Linked DNA regions of Homo sapiens: region 1 is linked to region 2. Evidence: promoter capture Hi-C in 16 types of primary human blood cells and fetal thymus (Javierre and others, 2016). All regions are on one chromosome and are shown on one strand. Each heading gives the region's core, a stretch centred on a gene start or on the middle of the fragment in contact. The rest is flanking DNA. Distances are from core to core; before and after follow the strand shown.

Region 1 (6,676 bases), core at 4,177-6,676, 670 kb after region 2:
AAGTTTCATATTCTAGGGGAAATCAGTGCCATCGTGGGAGCTAAAAAAAGGAGAACTCATTCCCAGGGCTGCCAATTGTAACCCTGGATTAAAGTGCCATGTGACTCAGCAGCTGCTTAACTTTTGACTAATAGATTTGTTTACATAAGAAGAATGAGAGGGTTTAAGCAATCAATGACGTCCTATCGGTTAAAAAAAGAAAAAAAAGAAAGAAAGAAAAATGACGTAGGCTGGGTGTGGTGCTTCATGCCTGTAATCCCAGCACTTCAGGAGGCCAAGGCAGGAGGACCACTTGAGGCCAGGAGTTAAGAGAGCAGCCTGGGCAACATAGTGAGACCCTGTCTCTAAAAAATAATAATAAAAAAAAATTAGCTGGGCATGATGGCATGCACCTGTAGTCCCGGGACTCAGGAGACTGAGGCAGGGAATCTCTGGAGCCCAGGAGTTTGAGGCTGCAGTAAGTTATGACTGTGCCACTGTGCTCCAGTCTGGACAACAGAGTGAGACCCTGTTTCTAAAAAAACAATAAAAATAAGTGACTTAAGATACAGCAGCTAGTTATCCTTAGAGATGTCACTGGATTATGAACTGATAGGCTCATGTTTATGTTTATAAATAGTATAAATAATATGTATAAGCTCAAATAATAGGGATGAGAAGGGAGGAGGTGAGGTCTTAGGTTTCATTCATTTGGCAAAAGCCTGTGATGAACCTGTGGGTCAGGCACTGGACACCTGATGAGGAGGAAAGAAAGGCTGTATAATCTGCGCTACCAAGAAGAAATCTGTATTCAATTCCTGGCCCTGCAGTAATCATCTGTACGCCTTTCGGCAACTGCTCTGGGCCTCAGTTTACTTACTTGCAAAACAAAGATGAGAGTCATACTCAAGCCATAGAGTTGATGAAAGGACTTTGATGAAGTATGCTTATAAAGTGCTAAGGCAATAAGAACAAACAATAATTACAACCATAACCACCTTTATTACACATTCCTGTCCTCAAGAGCTTAGTATGCAGAGCTTAGCAAACAGGTGACTGTAACTGGATAAGATGGTTAGTGTAATGTACAAAGTGAGGTGGGTGTGGGGAGAAAATTCTCCAAGGCTACTGTCTTGGGGAGTCAAAGAGGAATCACAGGAGAGAAGCTCTTAGACTTAAAAGAGAGTAGAAATTTACTCGGTAGTCAACCCCCCTCCTTTCCCCGCTCCTTCTTTCCTTCCTTCCCTCTCCTTTTCCCTCCCATTCATCCATCCTTCTATCCATCCACTCATCCTCTTATTGGGCACCAACCTTCTATCAGATGATGTTTTAGTTTCGGGGATATGATAGTACCTGTCATAAGCATACATTCTTGCAATGAGTGACAGATACTAGACATGGATACAAGCAGATAAGAATTCCAGATAGTCGGGGAACAGTGCCATGAAGAACCTAAAACAGAACCAGGGGAGAGAAGATGGCCTAGGGGTTGGGCAGGTGGAAGCAACTTTAGCTAGGTGATTAGAGGATACCTCTCCAAGTCAAAAGAGGCAGGTTGAATAATGAGAAGGAAGCCAAGATCTGGAGGAAGAATGTGCCAGGCTCAGGGAGCAGTGAAAGCCCAGAGATGGACAGTGTCTGTGCTTGAGGGGCAGAAAGAAGGCTAGCAGGGCTGGAATGAAAGAGGAGGGAAGATGTAGGTAATCAGAAACTTAATCTCAGAGGGCTGCATAAGCCAGGAGAAGATATTTCAACAGATTTTCAAAATTCCAAGGTTTAAAGGCAAAACAAAAACCCAGTCGAACACATGTTTTCCTCATGCTTTAGAACTCTTTTCAAACCACAAAGGAAACCTGGCAATCCACCCCACCCCCCACTTATTCCCTAAACTTCGTTATATAAGGGCCAACATCTTCTTTCATCTGTTGCCAGACCAGATACATTTGGCATCCTAAACAAGTTGCCAAAACAAAGCAGAAAGCTCAGCTTAAACTCTGTTAGAGGATGTTCTAAACTTCACAAAACACAATTCTCTATGTTTTCAAGTATGTTTATTTGGACAAGGTATACGGATATGAGCACAGACATAAGGAACCAGCTGCACAGAACCAAGACAATCTAGTAAAAAATTACTATTCAGCAGTAAGGAAAGATAAAAGCAGTCTTAAGTGTAAACAAGTATTTTTGCTTCATCTAGTGTTTATGAGCAACAAATGGCCTCAGTGTGAACCAGCAATGCTGAGAAGGACACAAACACGTATTTGCTAAAAACATTCCAGGCTTGGCGAATAATAAAGCAGCAGGGTTTGTTTCCTCTTTGATGAAGGTCCCCTCCCGTCAAAGGCTGCACCTTAAGCCTCTGCAGCTTAAGGTACAAGAAAGGCTCACGCTTGCTCATTCCCAGGGCTCTGCTTAGAAGCATGTAGCTAGGCCAGGTGCGGTGGCTCACGCCTGTAATCCCAGCACTTTGGGAGGCTGAAGCGGGTGGATCACTTGAGGTCAGGAGTTGAAGACCAGCCTAGCCAACATGGTGAAACCCCATCTCTACTAAAAACACAAAAAATTAGCCGGGCATGGTGGCACACACCTGTAATCCCAGTTACTCGGAGGGTGAGGCAGGAGAATCGCTTGAACCCAGGAGGTGGAGGTTGCAGTGAGCCAAGATTGCACCACTGCACTCCAGCCTGGGTGACAGAGCAAGACTCCATCTCAAAAAACAAAACAAAACAAAAAAATCCATGGAGCTGGGGTTGGTTTGTGAACCAAAGCAAGAGATTGAGAGGATCTTTGGCTTCTCTGTCTCTCACTACGGCATCTTTACATTCTGCACAGTCTGGAAACTTCCAATTTCAAGACATCTGCCCCATCTGCACCCCCCTTGCCCTGATAACCTGGTTCAGAGAACCAGGTAGGTTCTCTGGGCAGCACCACCTGACTCCCCACAGGACACATAGATCAACAAGGGCCGTTTTTTCACCTCTGATCATAAGCTCTTTCAACTGGCGAGTTTTCTTAAAGAGGTGGTAAATACCTTGCCTTTGGGTCAGACCCTATGGTTAGTGTGCTCTTTATCTTATTGAAACCATGAAGAAGCATTAACCTGTGGGGTTTATAATAAGAGCAGAAATTTAATTTCTGGGCCTTATGAAGGCCCAAATTCTACAACCCACAGACCCACTCTTCCTGCATCCTTCAAAGAGTTTTCTGGTAGCCCCTCAGACATTAAAACCTGCTTAGATGGTGACTGGATTTGTCCTCTTTAAAAAATTACAGAAATATGGACACAGGCTGCAGACATGTGGCTTGCTGACCAAGCTCCTGGGTGGTCTTTCCATAGAAATCATTGACATTCATTTGTCTGTTCATCAATGACTGAGCAAATAGTATGAGCAGGCACTGTGCTATATCCTGGGGGCAAATAGACCTAAAATGCTCACATTTGCTGCACTCAGGGATCTTTGGTCTACTGAATGGGGGGAGAGGGTGAATTTTAATTACGAAGAACTGTTACTTAGAGAGCACATGGTGTGTGTCACATTGGTACCTCCAGGTGGAGAGAAATGCAAGATTTGCTTTGCAATCAAAAGCAGAAACCACAGCTCTCTGATAACATTATGGGCCAGTCCAGGTCTGTCACCAAGAATAGACTTCAATAAGTCAAGGTGTTTCCCTATCTGTTCAGCCAATGCTAAGCACCACTAAGCACTATGCAGTGGTACATCTCATCTGGTTTGGGTGGTGGTGGTAGCTCCTGGAAGTCACGGTGCTCAGTGCAATGTACTATATTCTTGGAGAAACACCAAGAAAAAGCAGCACTCGCAGCTTCATGCATTTTGTAATCTGTAAACCTTTGAGAGCAAACAAGCAGTAGCATTAATGCTAAAGGTGTAAGAAAAATTTTAAACGGAAAAAATCCCAGCCATTGACTTCATCGTTATCTGTAAATTGGAAAAAAGCTGTGATTCTTCAATTGCACTCACAAAACAAGGCCCAATTCCTAAAAAAATCAAAACAGTTTGAGACCCACTGGTACAGATGGCGAAAAGAAAAAAGAAATGAAAGCATTCACTTGCAGATTCTAGAAGAAAAAAAAACTAACAGGCATGGCCAGATTTACTAAAAACCCACATTACAAACAAACAAACAACAACAACAACAAAAAACTCTATATTTACAGAAGGGAAAAGTATGGGTAACTATTTGCTTTATAAAATGGATCACTGTATAAGCTTCTTTTTAAAAAAAGACAAAATAGTATATCCCCAGAATGCACTTTAGAATTCAATTGAAAGAAGTTTGACTACTATACCAATCATAGCACTGTATAAAATAAGTCCCACAAGGGCACAGAAGGAAAAGGGGGCAGAAGAATGTATATCCGCAGCAAGTCCTTGAATCTGATACCCCATTCCCAAGATGTGATTTCAGACAAAACCCAAACAAAATAAAAACCAAATGGTCAGGCAAAAACACCTGTCCTGCCACTGTTCCTTGGACCCCGCCAGGCCTCCCTGGGACTCCAGCCTCCTCTCATAGACCCTTCCCCCTCGTTGGCAGCAGTAGGCCCCAAGACAGGTTTCCCTCTAGCAGTGATTCCCAACCAGGGGCATTTTGCCCACAGGGAATATTTAACAGTGTCTGAAGATATCTCTGGTTCTCACAGCTGGGGAGGGAGTGCTACTGTCGCCTGGTGTGTAGAGATCAAGGATGCTACTAGACATCCCATAGACAGTCCCCTGCAACAAACTATAATCCCATCCAAAATGTCAATAATGCTGAGGTTGAGAAACCCTGTTCTACAGGAGCCAAAATCATGACCATCCCTCCAGAAAGTCAGGTTACAAGAACTGAGTAGTTCACTTTCTGTCCTTTTAGGTGAGCTATTGTTTAGTTGAAGAGAAAAATCTGCAGGCTTCTGTTGTCAGGATATAATATTCCCTGAGCTTACTGGATAAGCCACTGATGCGAGGATTAGACTCACTGACACATGAAAATGCTTAGGCAACCGCCTCGAAAACATTGGTCAAAACATTCTAAGTGTTATAAGGGATGCTTGGCAAGGCCTCACGCTTAGTCTTAAAAAGCCTTCTCAAAAGTAATTTATACCAATGAGCCGTGGCAAATTCACCTATTCTATAAGTACGCAGTGACTCAACAAGCCTTTTGATCCATTTATAGAATGGCAACAATTATATTTTAATGAGTTATTTTCACTTACTTGTCAGAACCTGTTTTGGTAATCTAAATAACTTCACATCCTCTTAACATTCCTTATGAGGCTGTCTGAGAGAAAAACAGGCTCAGTTTTCTTTTAAGTCTCCAATCTCAGCTAAGTGACAAATGAAGCTGCTATAGCGACCACACTCCTGCTGGCTTATGGCCAAACTCACGTTTTCTTTTTTTCTTTTCCAACATCATAAATCTATTTTTTTCACAGATGAAATAACTTTCTGGTCCCATTTCTTCTTTCATGCTAGTATAGCACATTTTAAAACACTTTCCCCCCAAAAAAAGTCTTTACAGTATGATTCGATTAATAACTGGGTTTTTAGGAAAACTATTTTCAATATAAAGGCCAGAATCTCTAGATTTCTTTTACTGCATATCAAAGGTGGAAAGAGAGGCAATTGTCAAGCTCTTTCAACCTAGAGCCGCAATAAAACATGAATAACATCTAAACATTTTGTTTCCTTATTTTCATTTATTGGGTATTTCTTAAAGAAAAAAAAATCTCATAATTTACAGTAATAGCTAAATCTACTCATTCCCACGTGCCACTTCCACCACCAAATCCCCCAAACAGGACTCAAATGTAAATTTCACAGAGCTCTACAAACCACAGACAAAACAAAACAACCCCAAAGTCTGAAAACCACAGTCTCCTTTCAATCTTGCGGGTAGCAGCCTAAAAAAACATAAGCCTTGTTTAAAAGGTCAACGCACTACACTTCTCAGTGAAATAAATAACCAGCCTTTCCTGCCCTTCAGTCTAGTTCTGTATCGATGAACAAAAGCTCCTGTCGTTTCTTTTGTATCATCAGGAAAACAAAAAGTTTACATAAATGTATGTCAGGGCAATAAAAGTGACTTCTGTCGCCAGCATCCAGCCACCACATTTGGAGGATCCGAGCGGCCTCCGACCTCACGAAGGAAGCCAGAAATCTCACATCTGCCACGCAAAGCAAAGGACATAGGTCACCTTGTGCAATGTCCGCTTTACCTCAGGCCAGGGTTCCTTTTCTTCTAATTCTGTTCCTTGGCTGTGCTGAGCAGAGAACTCCTCCAGGCTTCAAGTTCAGAACACGGCCAAGAGGCTTTGTAGATGCCAGACCTCAGCCCGACAGACTGAGGCTCCCACCTGCCTGGGTTACATATCAGGCTTCTCTCCGAAGCTCGGCTAAGGCAACGTGCATCCCTCTAGAGACGCACTCCGGAAACCAGCCCCGTGTGCGGCGGGCAGGCACGCTCTCTCACGCCTCCTCTCCTCGCTTTACTTACTAGTTCAACACACCAGCAACCACAATGGGCCAGTCCATGTTCCCAAAAAAGGAGGGGGAGTAGATTTACTTTCTTTCTTTTTTTAAATGCAGGTAGGAAAGTACCATTTCTTTGCATTCACTCACTATTGTCTGCATGTGAAACCGACAGTGATTGTCCCTGAGGCATAAGCTTGTACTGAAACGAGATTCTTAGGCTT
Region 2 (6,899 bases), core at 3,902-6,401:
CAAAAACGTTGTCTTTGTTGATATATCGAGTATTGACATTTCAACTTACCAGGTATTTTCTTATAGAATGGACATGTCTTTTTTCTTGATCCTCCTACATTAGATGACTCTGGGATTTTCTTGTTGCCCCTTTGCAGCCCACCATGAGCTGATTTTGTGAAGACTTTGACTTTACTTAAATTGACTGCTTCAGATTCTGTATTAATAAGGTGATCTGATCTCTTCTGACACGCTCCTTCCTGCAGTGAATTTGACTTTCTACATCTCTTTTTTTGACGCTGTGACCTCTCACTAGAAAGTTCCACAGAAAGCTGACTCTCATGTAAAGTACTTGCATCAAATTCTAAATCACTTAAAGATTTTTCTGCTTTCCTCTTGCACTGCGAGGACCTCTTTTGATTAGGACTTGGAACTGGATTTAAGTTTATCCCTTCTAATGCACTTTCCCCTAGCAATTTCTCTTCCTTTCTTTTGGGAGGTAGTCCAAAATACACACCTATATCCATTTGCTTCATTACCTTGGTAGAAGGATGTCTTGCATTATACTTAAGACCAGAAGGCAATATTTTCAAATACTTCGGAGCAGGTGTACTAGACAAGTTTTCTGTATTTAAAATTGTAGCTTTACCAACTGGCACACCCTCTAATGCCTTTCTGCAGAAACATGCTGAGTTAGTATTATTCTTAGCATTCAAGTTCTCACTTGATAATTTTCTAATTGTATTTTGGGTTGGTTGGGAAGAAAGATACCCTTCTACCTGACTTTCAAAAGGTTTCAACATTAAACTCTTAACTAACGGAAGAGAAACTTGATTGTAAACAGATGATTCTTCAATTACCTGTTTCTGTTTATTTGATTGAGCTGAGTGAAATTCTGGCTCATCAGGTTTTGCTTTAGTTGCCTGATGAACAGAAGCAGCAAGCTTCCCTGCCAATGCAGGTGGAAACAACACAAAATCACCACCAGTACATGCCAGATCATAAGGCAAAGTACTCTCATTATTTTGAGAAATAGGTTGAGACAAATCATTTAGACTATTGAATCTATACAATCCTTCATCATACTTATCCCGAGTTAAGAAGCTGTTCACTTTGGGGCAGCTCTCATCCTGGTCCTTCAGTAAGGGACCATGTCGTTTTTTAAAAAAACCACAGCTGTCATCATCTTCTTCGAGGCTGCCATCTTTTGAGCTTTCGGTAAAAAACAGTTGTTCTTGTGAATCATCCGGTTTTTCATCGATATCATGAGTGTCTTCATCACTTTGAAGTGGAGAATAGGAGATTTCACAGTCACTGAAGTCATTTTCTGGCAATGGCAAATTTATGTGTTCTGAGTTGTTTGCAAGACGCAAAGCAACTCCCACTAGTTTGTCATTCTCAACAAAATCTGTAAATTGTAGAGCTTGTTGGGATGTTTGGATATGAGTAGAAATCTTTTCACTGGCTTCAGTCAGAGACGGAGACTTTTTAAAATACTGTGTCATCAATAAGGGATCATTTGAAACCGAGTTATCAGTTTGGTTCTGATACGAAGACCATCTTTCCTCAAGGCTACAAAGGACGCCTGACTTAGTCTCACTGAAACTGCCACCTGACGCAGGTGATGGGCTGCTAAAAGGATGATCACCAGCCCTGCTTTGAGCTAGCAGGAAGTGAGTGTATCTCTTGTAATGAAAAGGAATGGTTGAGGTACACAGAAGACCATCAGGACACTCTGAAATTTTAATAAAGAAAAAATATTACACGATCAAAGCATAGACTAAGCTTTGACAACATTAGCAGTATAAATTGGGTTCCATTATTTAATATCCACATTGCATATAATAAAAAGCAACAATTTTAATAAGATTAGTTATAATTGTTGATACACTGAACAAGTTTTAGATTCTATTCTAAGAATAGAATTTGAGAAATTGGTTAATTATAAGGCTTTACTAATTTGGAAACTATTCCCTATCATACTACCATGATTGAGAAACTTTCTATAAGCCATCTTGGTATATCCCTGTGTATGTTAATTTCCAGATTTATCAAAAAATGACACCTCCCTCCCCTCAAAAAAGATGTTATATTTGTTATATTAAATTAGAAAACTTCATGGCTTACAACCTAACTTAAAAATGCCTCTTAAAAGCATTTGTTATAGAATGGAATTTAATTCAAGAGCCATCTGAGAGTCTACTCAAAGGAGTTTAGTGAAAAACCAAAAGAAAAATTTTTTGAGGTGGCTTCATCTATATGACATTTTACCCTAAGGTCTTCAACCATGGACTCCAATTTCCATTCTTGATTTTCAAGTTACATGAAAGAAAATTACTAGCAAATTTGTGAGGTTTTCACTTGCTATCCTTTTCTGGGAAAGGCTAATGCCAAATTTAAAGAAGAGTTGTTTTTTTTCTGTATCTTCATGCAGTACTTTAAAATAACTACAGGTTAATAATAAAATGTATTCTGAATCATAGCTAACATGAAAGCCATATTGAGTATTTTTTTATTTTACTGAATTTTAACTTTTTCAGATTAAAAAAATCCATATATGGAATATAAATGATTTCAAAATATATAAATCATCACAACAACCTGTTCTCCATATGTATTCCAAGTAGGATTTTCTACATTAAATACTTATTACATATTTTAAAAGATAAAAAACATAGCATACTTTTATTATCATTTGACACGTTTTTTGTTAGAATCTTAATCACCTAGGACTCCTTCACAGTTCCTCTTCCTGTATACATAGCACGATGACTAAAACATAACCATATTTAGAAACCACATTATATCTATACTTTTTTTTTTTTTTTTCAGACAAGGTCTCCCTCTGTCGCCCCACCCAGGCTGGAGTGCCCTGGCATGATCACAGGGCCCTACAGCCTCGACCTCTTGGGCTCAGGTGATCCTCCCACCTCAGCCTTCCAAGTAGCCCACCACACCTGGCTAATTTTTGGTAATTTTTTTTGTAAAGATGGGGTTTCACCATGTTGCACAGGCTGGTCTTGAATTCCTAGGCTCAAGTGATCCGCCTGCCTCCACCTCCCAAAGTACTGGGATTACTGGCATGAGCCACTGTGCCCAGCCTATTTATAATTTTCTATGGAGTTCCATAATAACCACCAACTGGGGCCGGGCGCGGTGGTTCATGCCTGTAATACCAGCACTTTGGGAGGCCGAGGCGGGCAGATCACGAGGTCAGGAGATCGAGACCATCCTGGCTAACACGGCGAAACCCCGTCTCTACTAAAAATACAAAAAATTAGCCGGGTGCGGTGGCGGGCGCCTGTAGTCCCGGCTACTCGGGAAGCTGAGGCAGGAGAATGGCATGAACCTAGGAAGCGGAGCTTGCAGTGAGCCAAGATAGCGCCACTGCACTCCAATCTGGGCAACAGAGAGAGACTCCGTCTCAAAAAAATAAATAACCAATTGGACAAGTTATCTGACTTTTAAGAACTTTCATCTATAAAATGTCAATACTAGCTACCTTATATGGTGATTGTGAAAGTTGGGTAAGTAGACAGTGTGAAAGTACCCAGCATAGTAAGGATTCAGTTAACATTTATGGAAAATAATCCAGATACTTAGGAACTTTTATGAAATAACACAATGTATTTAAACTGTTTTCTAGTCTGCCATTTGCTTTACAATTATACCGTTGACTGGTATGGTGTTTCCCAGTGTCTCATCTCTCTTTTAGGTTACTGCTTGCCTTCCTTGTTTCACTGAATTGGTATGTCTGACCTAATGAAGACTTTTTAGATTATTTAGAAACTACTACGTTTTCTGCAGTCTTACCTGTTTCAGAGCGTGGTGGAGAATCCAAACATTCAAAAACATGCCATCGAGGTGTCTGCCCTATCAATGAGGAAAAAGGCATCTGGCAATTTGGACAGTATCCATCATAAACTGGACGTATCTTTGGGGACACGTGTTGGCTTTTTTGAGTTCTACAGAGTTTTCCTGGAGTAGTTTCCTTGTCTTGGGTCTGCTGAATACCATCTCCACAACTTGAATTCTGACTAGAAGCAACAGAAGTCTGACAACCTGCATTTCCAAGGGGCACTTCATGGTCCTTCACCTCTTTAGCTTCTGCGGCTCTTTTTCTGTTTCTACTCCGTTTTGACTGGTATTTTCCATCTGTTGCTTTTTCAACAGATTTTAGAATATTTTTAGAGCCATTATTTGGATCAACTCGTTTTGGTTTTCTTTTAGATTTGTATTCCCAAATGTCTTCTTCGGAAATGTCTTCTAACATGGCAAAATGATTTTATCATTCAAGAAGTATTAATCTTAAGTAAACTGAAAGTCCATTTCTTGTCACAAACAAAAAGTTATAGAATTATTTTGCTGAGAAAAAAAACAAAGGTAACAAAACCCCCACCAACTCAATGGGAATCTGCAGTGTTGGTAATGAACATATTGGCAAGCTACAAACCTTGTACCTGACAACACCTGCTATTCCATTTATACCACAATGAAACTAAGATAAACCTATCACAGGAGTAGCAACTGTGAAGTTCTCCATTATGGGTGCTATTTCATTCAAATATCTTGTCCTTTTCCAGGGCTTGATTCATAAAAATAATACTTCAAAAATTAAGCGCTAATGGCAAATATAGGTTCAACAGCTTAATCTTAGAACGAGATTTGTAACATTGTTATGAAGCTACTGTCAGTTCTTTCAAGTGGACAACCGTCCAAATAATTCATAAATCCAACCACAGTCCCTGGACAAAGGGCTTAACAGGTATCCCAAACACTAAATGACTATCTAACAAAACTAGTCACAACATAATCAAAGAGATGTGTAATTCGCAAAAAACTGCGAAGTCACTGCCCTCATCCACGACTAGTGGATACTCAACCACTTCAGTTTCCCGCGACAGTCCATGATCTTCCTCCAGCAGCAATGAACAATCCCTGCACAGTGAACAAAAAAAGTTGATATGTGAAAAAAGTTCAAATATGTGAAAGAGTGGGCTTGTATTGAGGTCTGACTCCGTATTGCACCCATGGTTCCGAAGGTGGCCAGCCCTCTGTCCACCTGACTCAAAACGGGGTCACACGCCAGCCTCTCCCTTATCTTTTGGCATTAGAGGCTGGGAGGCCAGGAAGCGGGGCCTTAATCATCTCCAGGTTAAGCATAGCGAGCTCCAAAAAGCCCTCAGAGTCCTGCCCTTCTGAAGACTCTAAGGCCCGCCCTCAAGGACCCTCACCGCCCCCCACCTGCCACTCGGCACCCCAAGGGAGCCGCTCCAGCTGCATCCGCTCCTCCCGGCACCCCCATCTAAAAATGTGTTCGCGCCCGCACTTTCAGCACTCCCAGATGACAAAACGCTGTGTTTGTGTATAAGTGAAAGCCACTCGCGCCAGTCACTTCCAGTTTACAAAGCCTTCTCTCTGGAGGTTATCCCTACCCGCTTTACCTTTAGGGTCTTGGCGGGAACAAGTTCCCGCTGCCAGTGCCGTGTCGAATCGGCGGATGCTGTTCAAAGAGAGAGACTTTAAAAATAATTTTTAAAAATACATTGCCCTTTTAAGTCCTACGGATTTATTGTATTTTATTTGTGTTCGAAAGTCCGCTAATTCCCAATGTGGAGGGTTGGGGATGTTTCCCTTAGCGCCTCTGGGACGCTGTCCCTAAGGCCTTATTCCATGTTGAATCTGACGCTCTCAATGTCCAGGCTCGGCTGCGGCGTGGGGACCGAAAAGGGGCGGGGTGGGTCGGACGGCAGTTTAATTACGTCCCCGGGAACTGCGCCGATTTGGACTTTTGGCACTTGGACCTATGCTTTAAAAAGAAAAAAGTGTCATTGGCGTGGAGTGGGGCTAGTGGAGGGTGAGGTGAATGCGCCGTTTGGAAACCACAGGACAGTGAACGTTTCGTCTCTCCCAGCGAGACTCTCCCGCGGGCCCGGCGGCCGCATCGGGAGCCCGGCGGAAACATGGCGGCGCCCGGAGGCCGGGGCCGCAGCCTCTCCGGCCTGCTCCCCGCGCAGACCTCGCTAGAGTACGCCCTGCTCGACGCCGTTACCCAGCAGGAGAAGGACAGCCTGGTCTACCAGTATCTGCAGAAGGTGGACGGCTGGGAGCAGGACTTGTCAGTACCCGAGTTTCCGGAAGGTGAGGGGCTGGCGTCGGGGTGGGGGCCCCTCCCGGCACCTCCCCTTCCTCGGGGACGGCGCCCTCCCGCGAAGCGGTGGGCTAGGCGGGTTTGTGCCGCTGGCGCCCCGGGGAGTGGCCCTTCGCCTAACTTGGGCCGCTGTTCGCGTGTTCTGCAATTCCCAGGGGTCCCCAAGCGGCCACCGACGGGGGTTTCCCTGGCACGGGGATCCACATACTCGTCTGTGTATCCTGAGTTCCGCCCGCGCCTGATATTAGCCAAGTGGACACTCCGTGAATATTTAGTGTCCCCGGTGGCAATGATTGCAACGTCCACACCATTCTGTCCATTCAATCTGGTTCCCCAGTGTCTTCTGGTCATCTTTCTGCATCATCTTGACATTTATTGATCACTTTTTCATGTATCACACACAGGGTTTTTTTTTGTTTTTTTTTGATACGGAGTCTCGCTCTGTCTCCCAGGCTGGAGTACAGTGGCGTGATCTTGGCTCACTGCAACCTCCGCCTCCCAGGTTCAGGCGATTCACCTGCCTCAGCCTCCGGAGTAGCTGGGACTACAGGCCCGCGCCACCACGCCTGGCTAGTTGTTTTGTTTTGTTTTGTTTTGTTTTGTTTTGTTTGTATTTTTAGTAGAGACGGCGTTTCACTATGTTGGCCAGGCTGGTCTCGACCTCCTGATTTCAAGTGATCCTCCCGCCTCCGTTTCCCAAAGTGCTGGGATTACAGGCGTGAGCCACCGCGCCCGGCCTGCCACACACAGTCCTAAACACTTGAGGGGA

What was found. Contacts are between HindIII fragments. The CHiCAGO score rates a contact against its expected background, and 5 or more counts as called.
Region 1: a contact is called between a fragment that was not itself captured here and the fragment with the promoter of DCLRE1A in region 2, in 1 of 17 cell types (activated CD4 T cells). The highest score is 5.3, in activated CD4 T cells.

Annotation. Positions count from the first base shown.
Region 1 is chr10:114,520,461-114,527,136 of GRCh38, forward strand. The region is part of intron 6 of ABLIM1 (actin binding LIM protein 1); the gene reads right to left. Among named protein-coding and RNA genes, the nearest start is that of AFAP1L2, 120 kb to the left of the region's middle. RefSeq lists enhancers at 6,169-6,288, 6,459-6,676. The HindIII fragment of the contact is 2,440 bases long and covers 4,207-6,646 here.
Region 2 is chr10:113,848,931-113,855,829 of GRCh38, forward strand. DCLRE1A (DNA cross-link repair 1A) reads right to left here and starts at 5,152. Exons shown (of 9, transcript NM_014881.5): 1 at 3,793-5,152; 2 at 50-1,714. The coding sequence starts at 4,252. It overlaps NHLRC2 (NHL repeat containing 2), which reads left to right and starts at 5,731. Exons shown (of 11, transcript NM_198514.4): 1 at 5,731-6,120. The coding sequence starts at 5,943. RefSeq lists enhancers at 2,705-2,924, 6,211-6,899 and a silencer at 5,841-6,200. The HindIII fragment of the contact is 6,407 bases long and covers 1,763-6,899 here.